Linked DNA regions of Homo sapiens: region 1 is linked to region 2. The links are contacts of gene promoters, found by promoter capture Hi-C in blood cells and fetal thymus (Javierre and others, 2016). All regions are on one chromosome and are shown on one strand. The core of a region is centred on a gene start or on the middle of the fragment in contact, and the rest is flanking DNA. Distances in the headings are between cores, read along the strand shown. Region 1 overlaps LINC00649 (long intergenic non-protein coding RNA 649). Region 2 holds the start of KCNE2 (potassium voltage-gated channel subfamily E regulatory subunit 2).

Region 1 (3,434 bases), core at 891-3,390, 390 kb after region 2:
AGGCACATCTGAGGAAGAGCCCAACAGTAATTCCTCATCTTGTGGCTGGACCTTGGGAGGACCCTTGGAATTCCCTGGGAGAGCTCTTATCTAGGACTGGCCCCCTCTCCTGCCAGGAGCCACCTTCAGAGACTGAGGGACTGTGAGTTCCTTCTCCCTAGCTCCTCCCTCGTAATTCCCAACATCTCTGACCACTGGCAGCTCTCCCCAGAGGCTGGAGGGCTACTGATGATTCCACGGAAGTGACTGCATGCACCGATCCTAACCCCCGATAACTCTAAGGATGCTAGGTAGGAATCTCCTTCCCAGGATCATAAAACTTGGTGGAGAGGAGGGGTTTGAAAAAGATTAATAACCTGCTAAGGACGTGACCAGACTGCCTTATTGAAAACAAGGGACTTGTGTGTGTCTTCTCTTCCCATTAACATCCCAACTGCCTGGTGAACAACCAGCTCGAGGAAAAGAAAAAGGAGATTTGCTGCTGTTGCTAGGACTAGGGCCCCAAATACATTAAGGCCCTTGATGGGGGAGTTAAGCCTGCCACCGTCCAGCGTTATGGGGTAAGCAAGCACTATCAGGTCTCTAAGTGGTAAACATAATTTTCCCACATGGGAGACACTAATCCACATCATGCTGAAAGCAAAGTTATAAAGTGCGGCTGTCCCACCCCACCCACCCCACCCCATCTCGGTCATGAGCATCCAGGTGCCTTTTCTTTTTAGAGACAGGGTGTCATTCTGTCACCCAGGCTGGAGTACAGTAGTGTGATCATAGCTCACTGCAGCCTCGAACTTCTGACTCAAGCCATCCTCCCACCTGCCTCCTGAGTAGCTGGAACCACAGGCACATCCCATCATGCTTGGCTCAGTTGCGTTTATGAAGCTTCTTCCACTCGGCTCTGAGCCTTGCTCCTGGAGTCATCCTTCGGCCAGGGCTGCTGGCACCTGAAGCCACTCTGGCCCCTGAACATCCCCCAGCCACACTAGTCCTGGCTCTCTTCTTCACGATGTCCATCAGGCAGAGACCAGCCAATGGGAGGTCAGACCCACCCTCCTCTGAACTCAGTGACATGTATGGGCTTTCATTATGTGCCTCTTCACAAATTTTATCTTTTTTCATTTTTGTGTCCCTTAGGATAGGAATTCCTAGCTCTACTTAATAGATGAGTGTGGGGCCGGGCATGGTGGCTCACGTCTGTAATCTCAGCACTTTGGGAGGCCAAGGTGGGGGAATCACCTGAGGTCAGGAGTTCAAGACCAGCCAGGCCAACATAGTGAAACCCCATCTCTACTAAAAGTACAAAAAGTAGCCGGGCGTGGTGGCAGGCGCCTGTAATTCCAGCTACTTGGGAGGTTGAGGCAGGAGAATTGCTTGAACTGGGGAGGCAGAAGTTGCAGTGAGCCGAGATCATGCCACTGCACTCCAGCCTGGGTGACAGAGCAAGACTCCATCCAAAAAAAAAAAAAAAAAAGATGAGTGTGGTAGGCAGAATAAAGTCCCCCAAAGACGTACACAGCCTGACCCCTGGGACCTGTGAATATTTCCCTCTGTGGCAAAAGAGACTTTGCAGAAGAGACCAAGTCAAAGATCTTGAGATAAAGATATTATTCTGGATTATCACAGCTTCTAAATGCAACCACAAGTGTTCTTATAAGAAGAAGGCAGAGGGAGATTTGACAGTAAAGAAGGCAATGAAACAAGGTGCTGTTCTGCTGGCTTTGAAGATGGGGGAAGAGGTCAACAATCAAGGAATGCAAGGAATGCAGCATTAGAAGCTGGCAAAGGCAAGGAAATGGGTTCTCCCAGAGCCTCCACGGGGATCTTGGTCCTACCAACATCTTGATTTTAGCCCAACGAAATTGATGTCAGACTCCTGACCTCCAGAACGCTAAGAGAATAAATGCATGTTGTTTTAAGTCCACACGTTTGTGGTGCTATATTACAGAGGCAATAGGAAAGTCATAAAATGAGTAAACAGAGACACGTAATGACTTGCTTCAAGTCACGCAGCAAGTCAGTGGAGCTGGAATTCACACTCTGGCTTTTGGATTCTAAGCCTCATATTCTTTCTGTTACACCATGCTGCTTCTGAGACTCTGCAGCAATTGAGAGTGTAATAATCGGGGAACAGATAAATTAGGTAATCAGTGTGTGTGTGTGTGTGTGTGTGTGTGTTAGCAGGATTAGACAATAGGGTACGAAAGAGAACATGTCATTGACTTGTACTTATCTCTCAAACTATCCAATGGAAAATTGAGAAACACCAAATACAAATTATAAAAAGGTATCATTAAGCTCAACATTTTGCCTCTGTTTTTCTGGTCACAGCGCAGTTGGTCTTCATATTGCAAAATAGTGATGATCTTGTTCTGTCCACGTGTTCACCTAAAGCACTGGTCTTACAGAAGGGTTTGAAAGAAAACAAATGGGCCAGGTGTGGTCGCTCACATCTGTAATTCCAGCAGTTTGGGAGGCCAAGGAGGGTAGATCACTTGAGATCAGGAGTTCAAGACCAGCCTGGCCAATATGGTGAAACCCTGCCTCTACTAAAAATACTAAAAATTAGCCGGGCATGATGGCACACGCCTGTAGTCCCAGCTACTCAGGAGGCTGAGACAGGAGAATTGCTTGAACCCGGGAGGTGGAGGTTGCAGTGAGCTGAGATGGCACCACTGCACTCCAGCCTGGGAGACAGAGTGAGACTCCATCTCTAAAAAAAAAATAGAAAATAAAAGATAAATAACTGTTCCTTGTGAGCCCTAACAAATAACAGAAAGTGTATAGAATAGATGCAAGCCGGGACTTGGGTCCTGAAGGCCAGAGTTCAATGTTTGCATTTCCTAAAGGAAATCTAGGGCAATCACATCTCTAACGGACAGCGGTCACTTTCGTGCCAGAGATAAGCCTTGAGCTCTTGCTCACTTGGTACATGTTGCATTTTCTCCTTCATTTTTAACTCCTCAGGAACCCCTAGAATGGTAAACTGGGAAGTCACCTCATTTAACTTAACAAGGAATCTGGGGCCCAGAGAGCTTAGGGGTGCCTCAGATGCTACTGGTTATGACCACGATCTGATGGGTCATCGTTACTTGAAGGGGTGAGCAGAGGCTTCGCTTAACTTCCTTAAGGCTCTCAATGGAAGAACCGCAAGTGTCTGTCCCCTTGTCATTTTCTGAAAAAGCAATTTATCATTAAGTCCTCCCTGTTGCTGAGCTATTCAATACTTTTTTACCTGTAAAAACTCCACTCTGGTTAGTTACTGCTTGGACATGATACCACAGCATTACCTGAGAGGTCACAACACATTTTATGTCTTTGGTCAGAAATAGAAAAACAGAAGCACAAGACCCCTAGCCAGAAGATGACAGCATGCCAGAGCTTAGTGTCACCAAGCTTTCCTTTCTATTTTTGGAAGCTTTAACTTATTAGGCAAA
Region 2 (3,597 bases), core at 201-2,700:
TGTCTCAAAAATCAAATCGAAACAAACCATATTTGGTATACATACTTATCCTACCCCTAAGTAGAATATCATAATAGGCATTTACTTTAGTAATGCTAAGACAACTACCATTTATGTTCTCTGGAATTATATGAAATAGCCATTTATATAGGTTAGAAATGGTCAAATATGGGCAATTCATGTGTATCAACCTAGGAGGACCTACATTTCCAGTGAATGCTTCTTGCTGAGTCCTAGCACAGGCTGGGCCCCTGGAGATCATTTAGGCTGGTTTGCTCTCTGATAGGTGGAATAACTATAGCCTAGAGGGCTTAAGTCACCTGTCCAAGATCACAAGCCTCTCAAGTTGGCCACAGTGCCTGGACTAGAACTCACATCACCCAAGCCAGTGTCCAGCACTGACTGTCCTAGCAGAGGTCACACATTCCAATAACTCACTGTTTTCATTGCTGTGACCAGTTGGCTCAACTGGGTACAAGACATAAGATCAAGACCATGATTTGAGCTTACACATGTCATTAGTTGTGCCCTGTCTCCAGGCTACAGAATGATCCCCTAATTCCAGCCATTCCTGTCATGAATGTGTGTTATTCATGACAACAGCAATCAGGACACTATTAGGAAAGTAACACTCATTTGACCCCAAAGTCCAGAGTTTTCTTTTCTTTCTTTTTTTTTTTTTTGAGATGGAGTCTCACTCTGTCGCCCAGGCTGGAGTGCAGTGGCGTGATCTCGGCTCACTGCAAGCTCCACCTCCCGGGTTCATGCCGTTCTCCTGCCTCAGCTTCCTGAGTAGCTGGGACTACAGGCGCCAGCCACCACGCCAGGCTAATTTTTTTTGTATTTTTAGTAGAGATGGGGTTTCACTATGTTGGCCAGGCTGGTCTCGATCTCCTGACCTCAGGTGATCCGCCTGCCTCAGCCTCTCAAAGTGCTGGGATTACAGGCGTGAGCCACCGCGCCCAGCCCCAAAGTTTTCTTTTCTTGAAACATGGTAGATCGCTCACATCACCTGGGCCTATAAAAGGCAGCAAAGTCTTTCATTTTTATATCAAGAAGAGAAAACAATATGATTACCTACGTTTACCATGAATCCTCCATTTTAAAAACTCTCAAAATTTTCATTCTAAGGCAATTAACAAAGAAATGAGTAAGGAAAACACAAGAAGGAAAGAAGGAAGAGTGGATGAGGAGCCAGGCCATGTACCAGGAAAATCATTCCTTTTATCATTTTCTGGAAAAGGCACATAGATAACTTTGTTACTTAATTCCTCAAAAAATAAAGAATGTGTGCTAAGACTTACCTATGCAGTGTGTGGGCAGGATGAAATTCCTTTCCAAAGCCAGGCTGTTCTGAACCTTCTTGCTGGCGTTAGCGAGCTCTCTTCTGGGTTGCACACAAGCCTCAGCCTGCTGGGCACCTTCACCTTACAACCATCTAAGCCCTTGCAACTGCAGTCTGCAATCCTATGCTTTTATGAACCCACATGTTTAATCTAATCGTATGTGGAAAGTTAAATACTAACTGGCAGTTGGAATTCACCTTGGTGCCTGATGGGGTGTGTGCCTCAGGGACTCTGGCTTTGGGCAGAGTGGCACAAGTTCCTGCTCTGGGACCCTTCCTGCCAGCTCCAGCCAGGGCAGGGCCTGGGTACAGTGAACATCTTTCCCCAGAAGAAGTCTTCCTCTTAGGGTAGGCTTGGGGGACAACAGCATTCCCTGCCAGAATACGTGGGAAGGGCTGGGTGGGGTGGCTCACGCCTGTAATCCCAGCACTTTGGGAGGCTGAGGCGGGCAGATCACCTGAGATCAGGAGTTCAAGACCAGCCTTGCCAACATGGTGAAACCCCGTCTCTACTTAAAAATGTAAAAATTAGCCAGGTGTGGTGGCACACACCTGTAGTCCCTGCTACTCTGGAGGCTGAGGCAGGAGAATCACTTGAATCCACAAGGCAGAAGTTACAGTGAGCTGAAATCATACCACGGCACTCCAGGCTGGGTGACAGAGTGAGACTCTGTCTCAATGAAAGAAGAAAGAAGAAGAGGAAGAGGAAGAGGAAGAAGGAAGAAGAAGGAAGAAGAAGGAAGAAGAAGGAAGAAGAAGGAAGAAGAAAGAAGAAGAAAGAAGAAGAAGACGATGTGGGAAGGACAGGGCCCCAGGGAGAGGAGCCAAGAACAGCCATCTCTGGGTGGTTGGTATGGGTTGAGGGGGTCAGTATAATTCCAGGCAAGTGCCGTGTTCTGAAGACGCTAAATAAGCTAGATTCTGGTAAATACTCCTCCACGGGACCACATCCAAATGAGTTTATAACAACATTGTTGTCTTGTAAAAGAGAAACGGGCTGCAAGGGTACTAAGGTACTACATGGAGGAGCTGGAAGTTAAGTCCAACAAAGAGGTTTTGAGGTTTTTGTTTGTTGTTGTTGTTTTGAAACAGAGTCTTACTCTGTCACCCAGGCTGGAGTGCAGTGGCGCAATCATAGCTCACTACAGCTTTGAACTCTTGGGCTTGAGGGATCCTCCTGCCTCAGCCTCCCAAGTAATGGGACTACAAGTGTGTACAAAGCCTGGTTAATTTTTATTTTTATTTTTGTAGAAATAGGGTCTTGCTGTGTTGCCCAGGCTGGTCTCAAACTCTTGGCCGCAAAGGATCCTCCAGCCTCAGTCTCCTAAGGCGGTGGGATTACAGGTGTGAGCCATGGTGCCTGGCCCCCAGCAAAGTATTTAAAGACCTAGCAAGAGCTAAACATACTCTATTTACCAAAAGATCCTTTTCTATCATGGTGGGGACCCTTGGAATTGGGAGAACTGAGTCTTTATATTGGCTATCATTTAGGAGTGCTTACCATGTGCTTTTATCGTATTAACCTCAGGTAATCATTGCCACAACCTGATGTGGAAGGTACTGTGAACTTAGCCAAGGGAATCAGGGCACAAGAGGTCTGATGACATGGAGGTGGAGCCATTTGGATTTGAATCCAATTTAAATGGCAGCCACGGAAGTTACACTCACTCACTCAAAATCACTTCAAGGTCATGTGGGTGGTCATTACTCTGTAACTTGTCTCATGGTTTTGTAAAAGGAAGGTTCACTTTGTTTTAAAATTGGAGTTTCACATTAAATGGTGCTCTGAACCATGTGGCTTGAAGCACACTGGGTGGCAAGAGGAAGATAGCTAAGATTTAACATGATCTACAAATTATTGCAGAGTTAACGTTATTAGGTGTATTTTAAAGAAATACGAGGATCTCTGTAACTCCGCAAAAGCTTCTCATTAACACCATTTGTCCTCATGGGTTGTCTTCACTGAACAAGATAGGCAAACTCAGCCAGGAGGAACACTTTGGTGGTGTAACTGTGTTCACCATGCCTCTGCAGAAATGGAAGCAAAACGTTCAAGTAAGAATTCCGCTAGGAGACGGTGCCACCTGCTGGTGGGAACAGGGAACTGAGGCCAATCTTCTAACTCAGCCCTTGCGGTTTAACTTCACTCTTGAATTCTGGCGCCGAGGAGAGGGGAATCAAAGCAGCGTGTTGTGCTTTGGTAATTAAAGGCAGAACTGGACGGCGATGTGTCATGGAGGCTGGCAAACCAG

The links. The method cuts DNA at HindIII sites, captures the fragments that hold promoters and counts their contacts. A CHiCAGO score of 5 or more calls a contact.
Region 1: a contact is called between a fragment that was not itself captured here and the fragment with the promoter of KCNE2 in region 2, in 1 of 17 cell types (naive CD8 T cells). The highest score is 5.2, in naive CD8 T cells.

The regions. Positions count from the first base shown.
Region 1 is chr21:33,970,252-33,973,685 of GRCh38, reverse strand. LINC00649 (long intergenic non-protein coding RNA 649) reads right to left here. Exons shown (of 3, transcript NR_038883.2): 3 at 2,500-3,434. Among named protein-coding and RNA genes, the nearest start is that of LINC00649, 41 kb to the right of the region's middle. RefSeq lists a silencer at 1,624-1,918 and an enhancer at 1,317-2,006. The HindIII fragment of the contact is 2,511 bases long and covers 885-3,395 here.
Region 2 is chr21:34,361,859-34,365,455 of GRCh38, reverse strand. It overlaps KCNE2 (potassium voltage-gated channel subfamily E regulatory subunit 2), which reads right to left and starts at 1,450. Exons shown (of 2, transcript NM_172201.2): 1 at 1,305-1,450. All of the region lies in intron 2 of LOC105372791 (a long non-coding RNA gene), which reads left to right. The HindIII fragment of the contact is 16,740 bases long and covers 1-3,270 here.